Regions from separate parts of the Homo sapiens genome. Here regions 1 and 3 are each linked to region 2. The links are contacts of gene promoters, found by promoter capture Hi-C in human tissues and cell types (Jung and others, 2019). All regions are on one chromosome and are shown on one strand. The core of a region is centred on a gene start or on the middle of the fragment in contact, and the rest is flanking DNA. Distances in the headings are between cores, read along the strand shown.

Region 1 (3,907 bases), core at 331-2,830, 85 kb before region 2:
AATTTTAATTAAACATCTGCTGGGTTACAAAAGGCAGCCTCATGAAAAAGTAATCTCTGTCATTTCCTCTTGAAAACGTCTAGTGGAAAGTAAATGGGGAAAGGAGCCTGATAAAATACAAGGCAGCATCTCAGCCAGGCTGGAGATCTAGCATGGAAAATTGGGAGAGCTTTTTCTTCTCCTTTCTCTCCAACCTCTTCTTGAAGGTATCTGTTTTCTTAAGGGCTGCCTGTAAAAGAACCTGCAGTCAGCCCATTAACAGGATTCAGGCAAATCCCAGCACTTCTGGTGGGTGGGAGGAGAAGAGATTGAAAGGAGCTTCAGTGTCAAGGTCAGCCTTGGGGCTCATTTGGTTGCAAATGATGGAACCTCAATCTGTCTTCAGGCATGGATGGATCCAGGTACTCATGATGCAATCAGGAATTTGTCTCTGACCATCTCTGGTCTCTGTCTTCCTCTGCATTGGCTTCATTCTTAGAGGGCATCCCCCATGTCCTAGCAAAATGGCCTCTGTAGTCCCAGGCGTACATCCTACCAGCTGAGCACCCACAGCAGAAAGATCATCTCTCGTTTAATAATGCCCGCAAAAGTCCTGGGATTGGCTGTGAGTTGCCCGACTTGGGTCACATGCTCATCCCTAAACCACTTTCTGTGACCAGAGGAGCATGCATATGCATTCTCCTATGTCAGGGATGGGTCACACATCCCCTGTCAGCACCAAGGGTCTGGAGTCAGACCTTCTTGAACCACAGGGTCTGAGAGCGGAGAACTGCTAACTCATCAAAGTCAAACTAAGGCTCAGTTACCAAAATAAGGGGGGAAGTGATACCAGTCAGATCAGAACCACCATCACCCAGTAGAGGCTCCTGGGAGAGTTTATCTCAAGGAGAGATGACTTAATGCTGCCACTGTGTGAGCCTGGGATCCCAAAGGAAGGCGTGATTCTCAGTATACATTGGTGTCTAAACCCTGAGCCCCACCTTAACCAGGTGACCTTGACCATGTGTGCTCACCCCGAGGAGGAGCAGCTGTGGGTATAGTGTATAAAGCCTAATCCCCAAGCACTGTGCCGCATCAGGGTCCCAGCAGCCCACTGCAGTAGCCCGCCACGAAAGCATATGGCAAAAGTCAGGAACCATCCCCTCCTTAGCTGCTGTGCCGATCGGTTACCACGAGCTTAGGAAGCGCTGGCGGCTGGGTGACCAAAAGGACCTGCTCCCCAGCACAGGCAGAGCAGCAGGACTTAAAGGCTTGTCTCAGGGGAGGCATCAGAAACTGTGGCCACGGAAGCCACACGTGGCTGGGGCTGATATGTGTGCACATGTGAAACCCCTGGATACAATCAGAAGTGTCTGATGAGTGAGCAGATCCAGGCAGGAGTAACAATAACAACCATAAGCCACCTCGTACCAGGCAGGCACTGTACTGAGCACCTGAGGACATCATTTCTTTTCATCCTAACAGCAACCCCAGGAAATAAGAATCACAACCCTTCTTTCATGGATGAGGAAACTGAAGTTGAAAGAGATTATTTCACTTGCCCAAAGTCACACAACAGTAAGTGCCAGAGCTGGGATTTGAACCCAGGACTCCTGTACCACATAGGTCCTGCTATTCTCACTTCAGTATGGAACCCCCCATACACACACACACAGACACACACACACACACACACACACAATATGGAACCCCTCCATACACACACACAGAGCAGGTAAACACTTTGCACACATCCACAGTGAGGTACCAGATCGTGCAGGTTACAGAGAAAATGAAGAATCATCCATGGTCCAGAAGTAGACATTTTAGTGCTGGGGGCTGGGTTCTGGTCCTGATTGCAACCGTTTTAAGCTTCTGGCCTCTTGCAAGTCACCTAAGTCTCTCCTAGCTGTTTTATCCCCTGTAAAAAGGGAATGATAGTATCCTGACCACCCCGAGAATTCCATAGGTTCATGCACATGGATGTGTTTGAAAACCGTGAAGTGCAGCATAGATGTAAATAATCGTAATAATATTCTGCAAAGAGGAGGCCAATTAATGTATTAAATATTTTTGAAGGAGAAAATGGTTTGTGTTGATACCACAACAGTTTCTCAGCACGAACAATACCATCTGCCTGCAAATATTGTGATGTGGGAAGAAAGAAACAATCTTTACCCAATTATCTTCCTTATAAAGATATACTGAAGTACAATTAATTCTCTAACTCTTCTATAATATTCTCTTAATTAGTGGTAAAAATAGGCATTTCTTCCCAAAGCTTCTGCTGTTATATACTAAACGCTGCTTCCTCATTCGTAATATGCTAATATACTAGTAATTAAGAGCGTTGAGATTCTGTTTAATGACTGTGTTTGGTTTGTTGAGGATAATTGCATCTCCTACCCACTATTCTGGAGTTCCCAGGCACAATCTAGGAGCATAAATGGGCACAAAAGGAATAAGGGGAGCCCCTCCCCTCTCTGGGTGGTGGCCCCTTCCAGACCTGTCTTCTCTAGACTCTGAGGGGCACGAGCTTGAGCACTTTCCCTCCTCCTTCCTGCAAAGCGCAGTGTTCTCATGGCACGCGCATTTCCTCCTGTCCCTGCCTTTGGACTTGACATCTCAGTCCCTCCAGACTTCTCACCTGCAGCCTGCAGCCTGAAGACACCACCTAGCGCAGGCTTCTCAGCCTCAGCCCTGCTGACATCCGGGGTGGGAAAATCGTCTCTCGTGGGGGCCGTCCCCTGCACCATAGGATGTCCAGCAGCATCCCTGGCCTCCACCCACTAGTGAGTAGCACCCCACCTCCCAGCTATAACAATCAAAAATCTCCCCAGGCACTGCCAAACATCTCCTGGGGCAGGCGGGGCGCAAAATCAGCTCCAGTTGAGAACTGCTGACCTGGTGTAAAAAGATTAAGAACAATGGAAAAGTCTATTCATGGAGGGTCAATTAAATAAATCATGGCACATTTCTCTAGTGAAATTTCTTCAGCAGTTAAAAAGAGTAAGTCGGCCCTATGCAAACCGATAGAACAACCTCCAAGCAAAAAAGTCAAGGAGCAGAACAGCATCTATAGGAAGCTGATTTTTATGTTCACTATATTTGCATTCCGGAGAAGGACACAAGAAGATTGTAACAGTTGTCACCTCCTTGGAGGACACTTTAGTCTGTTCTGACTACTATAACAAACTACCATTGACGGGGTGGCTTGTAAACAACTGAAATTTATTCCTCACAGCTCTGGAGAGTGGAAAGTCCAAGGTCAAGGTGCCAGATAGATTTGGTGTCTGGTTGATATGGTTTGGCTGTGTCCCCACCCAAATCTCATCTTGAATGTAGCTCCCATAATTCCCATGTGTTATAGGAGGGACCCAGTGGGAGGTAATTAAATCATGGGGGTGGTTTCCCCCATACTGTTCTCGTGGTAGTGAATAAGTATCATGAGATCTGATGGTTTTATACAGGGAAATATCTTGCACTTGGCCCTCATTCTGTCTTGTCTGCCGCCATGTAAGACGTGCCTTTCACCTTCTGCCATGATCGTGAGGCCTCCCCAGCCATGTGAAACTGTGAGTCCATTAAACCTCTTTTTCTTTATAAATTACCCAGTCTCAGGTATGACTTTTTCAGCAGCATGAAAATGGACTAATACGCCAGTAAGGGCCCATTTCCTGGTTCATGGTTGGCCGTCTTTTTGCTGCATCCTCACATGGCAGAAGGGGAAAGGGAACTCTCTCAGGCCTCATTTATAAAGGCACTAATCCCATTCATAAGCTCTCATGACCTAATTACCTCCCAAAGGCCCCACCTCCCAATTTCAACATGAATTGCAAAGGAACACAAACATTCCATCCATAGCAGAGGGTAACCAGATAGCTGGACATCAACACAGAAGAAAGCCTTGACATGTCTCAATTTTTGT
Region 2 (4,069 bases), core at 176-2,675:
GCCCTGCGCTCATTTCTTAGGGTTAACCCTAACCCACTTAATGAGCACCCACGACTCCCCAACCCGAGCCCCACTCAAGCAGAAGGCCTCAGGCTGGTCGGCAGCAGGGTTTCTTCATGTCCTTTCTTGGTTCTCTGATGATAGGCAAAGGCAGTAGAGACAGAAAGGAAAAGAGGAACGGAGTGCAAGAGACAGAAAGGAGAAGAGGAACGGAGTGCAAGAGACAGAAAGGAGAAGAGGAACGGAGTGCAAGGCAAGCCACCCTAAGAGGCCAGCCCTGCCAGCAGCACAGATCCCTCCAAACCAATAGGTCCCTCCAACTCAGTAGATTCCTCCAACCCAATAGATCCCTCCAACCCAACCTCCAGCATCTGTGCAGCATCCTACCAACTCCGAGGCTAGGCGGCCACACTGGGAGCAAGACCCCAGGACCTGGTCCAAGTGCCCTGCACCGGCCAGGGGAGTGGACGACGAAGTGCGGCTCTGCTAGCCCGGGAGGGCTCTGGGGCCTCGGCCCCGCGGGACTGGAAGGGAAAACACCTGGCACGGTACGTACTGGCCCTAGGAATTTGGCACAGCAAGATGCTGGCAGTCCCTGGGTGGCGGTGGCAGGAAGGGCCCAAGGGCAACATTGGTCTAGGAGGTCGAGAAAAGGCGCGCGATATATGGCCCCCAGGATGTGGAAGCTTGCTTGGAGCGTTCGGCTCCAGGGCAGCAGCGCGTGGAGGGCCTCAAGGATGCAGTATTTGCCCGGGGTAGGGGGGCGAGGGACCCAGAGGCAGCAGTGCACTTGGACTTCCAGGACTTCCAGGGAAAGGCAGGAGACATGGCGCATGTGGTTCCCAGGATGTGTAAGCGCGTGGAGCGCGGCCCCGGGGCAGCGGAGAGTGGGGTTTTAATATCTAGCACATGTAGACCCTGGGGCGGTGCTGCTAGGGGCGCGGACCCGGGACCACCGGAGCACTTGCACCGCGGGGAAAGCTGACAGGGCGCGCGACCCTAGGAGGCTGCCGCGCCGCCTGGTGCGTGAAGCTCCAGGGCAGCGGAGCGCGGGGACCTTGAAGGCTGTCGCGTGCAGGCGAAGGGGCCGCAGGGTGGTCGCTCCTGGGAGAGCAGACGGGGAAGAAGGCAACGGGAGGGAGGGCGTAGCGCGAGCAGTCCCGGACGCGGGCTCAGGAACTGGCCGCGAGGAGCGCAATCCAGCAGGCGCGCCAGGGCCCCCGGATCCAAGGTGCGGGGTCCCGATTGGGCGCCTGGACGCCCCGTGACGGTGGCGCCGCTGCCACTGTCCCGAAGCGAGGCGAGGCCAGGCGCTGCGCTTTCGGCTGCCCGCCCCTTCTCCCCGCCCCGCGCTCAGTCCCCTCCCTCCGTCCCGCCTCCTGCCTCGCTCCCTCCCTCGGCGGCTGCTGCGCCGCGCTCCCGGCGCACTCGGAGCCCGGCGGGGACCGGGAGGCAGAGACGGGGCGGCCGTGGCTCCGAGGGCGGGAGCTGAGCCGGGCCCCGGGACCGAAGTTTGGCGGCGGCTCCGGGAGGCAGAGCGGGCTCCCCGGGCGACTTCCAGGCCCCTCTCGCGTCCTCGCCCCGGACCCGTGGGCAGCCGGGGGGAACGGAAGCCGCGGCCGGGCCAACTCCGAGGCGGGGACGCCGCGACGGGAACTTGAGGTGGGAACTTTGCGCGCTGCAGCCTCGCCGGGCGCCACCGAAGCGCGAACCGGACCCCGAGCCTGCAAACTCGGGCTCGGGGGCGGCTGCACGTGGCCGTGGCCCTGAACTCCCTGCGGGGGCCTCGAAACCCGCCTGCGGGGAGGCCAGGGCGACAGAGGACTCGGGAGTCACCGCTGGTGCGTGGCGGCGTGGAGCGCGCTTGTTACGGCCAAGGTGCGGGTCCGGCTTCGGTTCATCCCAAGGGGTCACCGGGATGCGAAGTCCGGGACGTTCGCCGCCGCGGTGACCCCGGCGGGGGCGCATCCCGGCTGTGGGCCGAGGTTTCTCCCCCGATCCTGGGAGGAAGGAGAGTTAGGGATTGGGGTGGGGGAGTGTGTGTCACTTGCTCATTCACTGTATCCTTAGGCACAGTATGGAGCCCCCCTTCACCCCCACCGTGGGCCTGATTGAGTCATTCATTATGAACACAGCAAGCGTTTATTGAGCGCCTACTGTGTGCTAGGCACTGGGGATACTGAGACAGTTCACTGGGCACCCCCAGGAACTGGTAGGAAGGTGGTGGTCTCAGCCTTAGGGTTTCCATGTGGGAGAGAGGCTCAGCCCGGAGGTATGGAAGGAAAAGGGTGAAGTTCATTCATTCATTCATAGATTGGACAAAGATTGGTTGAGCACCTATTGTAAGCAGCTCATCATACCAAGCGCTCAACAGTCATTCATCCAGTTCACAAACATTTATGGAGGCGCTATGCTGGGGAGAAGTGAAGAGGGATGGAATGGGGGCACCCTTCATGCAGCTTAGAGAGAAGTAAGGATTAAGACCCAGGCCCCCGCTTGGGAGGCCGCAGACTGCCGGGGTGGCCAACTGTAGCAGCCCATGTATATAGGCAGAAGTCTTGGTTCATCTAATGCATTCCTTCTCAAGGTGGGAGGTGTGGAAGCTGGAATTGGTTCTAGAATAGGAAGAAAAGATCTTTTCAAAGCTCCTTAGGGGCGGGTGATGGGGTAGGGTGGGGAGGAGTTGAGAAACACTGATCCGACATTACTGAGGAATGCAGGTTCCCACCAATGGGGTTTATGAGTTAGGTTGTCCATTCAGCAGGCATTTTCTTAAGCACTCGCTGTTATTAAGCACTTAAAGGGTGCCAGGCACCAAAGTTACCCAGGTAAATGACAGACACATAGAAGAGGGAGACAGACACAGACGCCCCCACCCCCTTTGCTGACTCCCTGAGATAAGTACAGGGGGAAGTAAGAGGAGGGAGCAGGAACTGGTCTGATTCATTGTGGGGTGGGGGAAGTTCCTGCCCTATGAATCTGAGCAGAGGTTTATTCATTAGTGTGTGTTTGATACCCCCATACCCATGATGGCAGAGTCCCTATGAAGAGCCTCACCGGCAGCACATCTCCAAGAAAAGTTTGGCACTGCTGATTGGGGCCTTGCGGTCGGCACTGTGGCTAGGGCATGCTGTCCTTCTTTGGGGGATTTTTCAGGCTCTGCCAGACCTGAGCTCTATTTGTGCCTCCCCCGGCTTTTGGAGCCCTGCAGAGTCGCCTGATAGGAGGGGAAGGAGGGAAGGTGTGTTTGAAAAACAGGCAAGCGCTGGCCCCTGGGGATCACCCTCCTCAGTCATTCTCGAAGCCAGCCCGTTCCACGGGAAAGATGTCTGTCCTGGGACACACTCCTAACCTGCAGGGAACTGCAAGCACACTGGAAACGAGGCAACCTAGGTTCTTCTCCTGAGACTTGAGAGCCCAGGCCCGCAGCCTACAGCCTGGGTTGTCAAACCTTGGGAGTAAAAAAATCAACCAAACCCCTAGTTTTGCCAAACTCTGGGTTGCCTTTTTGGCCTCTGGGAGGGAGATGTGACATGGGAGGCAGAGGTTACTTGCTTCTCCCCATCCCCAAAGACTTTCCCGAAGCTTGTCCTGGAGCCTGATTGGGGCAGATCTGAGCACCACTTTGAATTCTCTGCACCAGACCCACAGCTGGGCTCTGGCAAGAGGTGAGGGAGGTGCCTCAGGAAACAGAAGAACAAAGAGATGTGTGCTGGATGCAGGGCTAAGCGACGCAAACCAGCTCCGAGGAACTCACCTCCTGGAGCCGCAGTAGGTACCTTGGCTCGGCTGTCCTTTCTCCACCCTGCTTTCCAATGTTGATGAAGAGTCAACATTGCCTGTTGCCAGAGGTCTAGGGGTACAGGAATCTACCCTTGGTTGTTGCATTAAGCCCAGAAATGGAGCCTGTGGGTGAAAAATGGCAGCTGGTAAAGCCCCTCTAAATAGAATTAATAAAAAGGGAGAGGCGAAGAACCTAGCTGAAGCACTCCATTGCTGTGGACCATTTTTATCATCCAGCAGACTGTATTTGATTAACGAAATCAGAAATGAAGTGACTTTGCTACAA
Region 3 (4,038 bases), core at 1,199-3,698, 66 kb before region 2:
TCAGCCTCCCTGAAACCCAATTGTTCCATCTGTAAAGTGGGGATGTTAAAAATGTCCTTTCCTCGCAGGGCTGCTGTGAGGACGAGTGTGATGCTGTTTGTAGGAGCCCGACACAAGGGAAGTGCTCGCTGAGCTCTGCAGAATGAGATGAATGGATGGTTTGTAGGAGGCTGGAAAAGCTCCACTCACAGGTGCTTAGGTGGAAAAATGGGCTGGAAATGGGGTGAACCAACAACTTTCAGATGACAGGACTAGGGAACCCTGTGGTGACAGCGTAGTCTCCTCAGACCCTTGCATGATCACTTGCCCTAGAGCTGTAGCACCCGTAACAGCTGGCACTCATCGAGCACTTACTGTATGTGAGATACCTCACATGCACCTCATCTCATTGAATCTTTATTTCAACCCTAGAAGGCAGGTACTGTTAGATCCCCTTATTACCAACAGACAGAGCGTAGTCACTTGCACAAAATCACCGAGACAGTAAAAGGCGGGGCCAGTTCAAACCCAGGCAGGCAGGTACCTGAGCTAAGTCAGGGGAACTAGAACTGGCTCCTACCAGCTTGAGAAAGCAAGTTGTTAAATATCCAGGTGTTCTAGTGATTAAATGTGGGAAAATGGAGGGTCTGACATGCCTCATCATACCCTGTAGCTGTAGCTGTGGGACCTGTAGCTGTGGGACTCTGGGCACATACTCAGCCTCCCTCCCTGAATCTCAATTGTTCCATCTGTAAAGTGAGAATGTCAAAAGTGTACCTCCTTCATATGGGTGCTGTAAGGTCAAGCATGATGCTGTTTGTAGGAGAATTCTACAAGTAGGTTGTTAAATCATTGGTAGCAACCTTGATAGAAATCAGCCATGATGTATTTACACCAAGGAAATCAGCAATCACTCTAATCCTGGGCTCTTCCCCGGCCCTTCCCACATCCAGTTTCCCAGCACATCATCGATGACCACGCTGGGAGAGAACTTTTGGCTTCTCCTTCCTACTTGTAATAAACCCTGACATGCTCATGGCTCTTTAGGGTTTACAATATGCTTCTAAATCCACCTAAACCAAACCAACGAAACTGTGAGGGAAAGATTATTTGCATCCTCACTTATTTGTGGGATCTAAAAATCTAAACAATTGAACTCAAGAAGATAGAGAGTACAGGGATGGTTACCAGAGGCTGGGAAAGGCAGTGGGAAATTGGGGAGGTGGGGATGGTTGATGGGCACAAAAAAATAGAACAAGACCTAGTATTTGATAGCACGACAGGGTGACTATAGTCAATAATTGTGCATTTTAAGATAACTCAATTATTTATTTATTTATTTTATTTAAATAATTACTTTAAATAATTTTAAATAATTGAGTTATTTTTAAATGTACAATTAAATTGTACATTTAATTTAAAATGCACAATAATTAATTGTACATACTGTTTTATTTTAAAACAGTATAACTGGATTATTTGTAACACAAAGGATAAGTGCTTGAGGGGATGGATACCCCATTTTCCATGTTGTGATTATGACAGATTTCATGCCTGTATCAAAACATCTCATATATCCCATAAATACATATACCTACTATATACCCACAAAAATTGTTTTTAAAAATTTTAATTATTTGCATTGATGATGATGATCAAAACAGCCTCCATGAGGCGATCAACCCAAGGGCCTAAGAGGACAGCAGACCTTCTGAGTTCTAGCCAGGCCCTTTCATCTTGCAAGGCAGCCGCCCCAGAAGTGGGTAGCAGGTAGGGTCTGTTTAAAGCTATCCAGCATCTCCATGGCAACAGGCAGTAGCTGCCCTGTGGGCGTTGGGGAGGGGACCCTCTGCCTCATTCCACAGAATGATTCCACAGGTCCCACGGGCCCCGCTGAGGAGTCAGCAAAAGCTTTCTGCAGTTTCCACATGGAGACGATCTGGAGGTGGAAGTTAAGTGGGTGTAGATCTCAAGGCAAGTAAAACTCCGAAGTCAAGTCTGACTGAGCCCAGTGCTTTGCATAAGAGAGAAATAATAAATGTTTCATGAATGAACGAATGAATAAGTGAATGAATGAAAAGTTTTGTCTATACTCAGAGATTTACAAACTCAGTCTCAAGCATTAAGAGAGGGGCTTGTTCATTCCTGAATTTCACTAATGGCTTCCCTGCATTCATGCTCTTTGCTTCAGCTTTCTGGTCCCACACTCCCTGACTCTGGGTTCAGGCATATGACTTGCTTTGGCCACTGGGGTATGTTAGCCCATCTGATGCCAGCAGAGCTTGAAAAGCCTGAGGGTATTCCCACTTGTCCTCCTGCATGATTGGGATACTATAGCTCTCTCAGGGACCACTGCCACCGCCATGGGAACGTGTCAGACTGTGACGAATGTGGTGGTAGGTGGAAGAGCCAAGTGGTCCCAGCAAAGACCATGCTAGACCACCAGCCCCCAGCGGAACCACCAGCTGACCATGGACAAATCAATGGGACCAACTGGGATCAGCACAACTGCCCAGCCTACACATCAACTCATGAGAAATAATCATGATAATAAAAGGTTATTGGGGCTTTTTCATTTTAAAAAATGATTTATGTTTTAAAAATAAATGTTATTGTGTATATTTGAGGTTTACAACATGATGTTATGGGATACATATGGATAGTATAATGGTTTAAAAATTATTGCTTGAAAGGACATCAAGATGGAAATAATAGGCACTGGGGACTCCAAAAGGGGGAAGGGTGAGATGAGAGTGAGGTTGAAAAACCACTTATTGGGTAGAACGTTCACTGTTTGGGTGATGCGTCCACTAGAAGCCCAAACTTCACCATTACACAATATATCCATGTAATAAACTTGCACAGGTACCCCCTGAATCCATAATAAAAAATATTCTTAAAAAGGTTATTTGTTTGAAGCCATTACGTTTTGGGGTTATTTGTTATATGTCAGTAGCTACCTGATACAGGCTGCCTGCTTTGCAATTCTCCAAAAAGCTCAGAAGGGCCTGCTTCTTTCTTCTCTCTGAGTCTGCTGCCTCATTGAGAATTCTGATGAAAGGCTTCAGTGTAGCTGCTTCTTCACTAAAGACTCAGGTACAAGATCATCTCCCATTGAGGGAAACAGGGAAATCTGCCTTCAGCTAAATGAACAAGGACATCACCGAATACCACCACTCCCTTGGGAAATATACTTTAATAGTCCCCGTAGCTGAGAATGACACAAAGAAATTCTGAAGAAACAATAAGCTTCATTTATCATTTCTGCTTTAGAAGAAAAGTTTTGCCTGAATCATTGCTGATCTGTCTCCCCTGCAACCACCATTTACCTGCAGCCAGATTCCTTGCCAGGATTAGAGGACATCAGCTAGTCTAGAACTGATGACTTAAAAGGTGTTCGGGCTTTACCCTTCTTAGGGGATCCCTTTTTCGGGGATGACATAAAGTCCCAAGATACACCAGAATCAGCGCTGCTAAGGACTGGCAGGATCCAAAATGTGATTTTCGGTCTCTTCCCAGTGGAGGTGAAACGAAGTGGTCTGTACTCTCTCTACTCCACGTGTGGTCCAGGGACCAGCAGCATGGGGATGGAATTATCTGGGAGTTTGTCACAAACACCAAATCCCAGGCCCCATCCTTAACCTCCTGCATCAGAACCTGTGCTTTGACAAGATGCCAGGTGATGCAACTGTACATTTTGTGCAGGAAACTCTGCTCAACAACACCCGTCTCTGCTCGTGGAAGTTCATGTAAGTTACAGGGGTTTTAAACCAGAACATCACCCTCATTCTCAGTGTTATAAAGGACACCCTCCACTAACAGAACACAAATTTCCCAACCCCCAATGCGTGCAAGGCACACACACACACACAGGCATGCACACACTTCCCTCAACCAGGCTGGTCAAAGTCCCTCACTTGTGAGTCCTACTTGAAAGATTATGTCTTCTGAAACACAGCGCTTTGTACCTTAAAGGGCCTCTCAAATGTCCCACTGAGACCCAGGGGTTCATTCACCAGAAGCACTTAGTCTTGCTAGGAGATTAAAGGTTTCAAATGA

Evidence for each region. The method cuts DNA at HindIII sites, captures the fragments that hold promoters and counts their contacts. A contact is called where the count stands out against the background at its distance.
Region 1: a fragment that was not itself captured here is called in contact with the fragment with the promoter of KCNG1 in region 2 in 5 of the 25 tissues and cell types used here (H1 embryonic stem cells, IMR-90 fibroblasts, dorsolateral prefrontal cortex and 2 more).
Region 3: a fragment that was not itself captured here is called in contact with the fragment with the promoter of KCNG1 in region 2 in 6 of the 25 tissues and cell types used here (IMR-90 fibroblasts, aorta, dorsolateral prefrontal cortex and 3 more).

What each region holds. Positions count from the first base shown.
Region 1 is chr20:51,106,101-51,110,007 of GRCh38, reverse strand. No RefSeq gene overlaps it. Among named protein-coding and RNA genes, the nearest start is that of KCNG1, 85 kb to the right of the region's middle. The HindIII fragment of the contact is 3,896 bases long and covers 1-3,528 here.
Region 2 is chr20:51,020,463-51,024,531 of GRCh38, reverse strand. It overlaps KCNG1 (potassium voltage-gated channel modifier subfamily G member 1), which reads left to right and starts at 1,425. Exons shown (of 3, transcript NM_002237.4): 1 at 1,425-1,662. RefSeq lists a silencer at 1,327-1,496 and an enhancer at 3,221-3,784. The HindIII fragment of the contact is 10,697 bases long and covers 1-4,069 here.
Region 3 is chr20:51,087,336-51,091,373 of GRCh38, reverse strand. No RefSeq gene overlaps it. Among named protein-coding and RNA genes, the nearest start is that of KCNG1, 66 kb to the right of the region's middle. RefSeq lists an enhancer at 3,702-4,038. The HindIII fragment of the contact is 3,469 bases long and covers 714-4,038 here.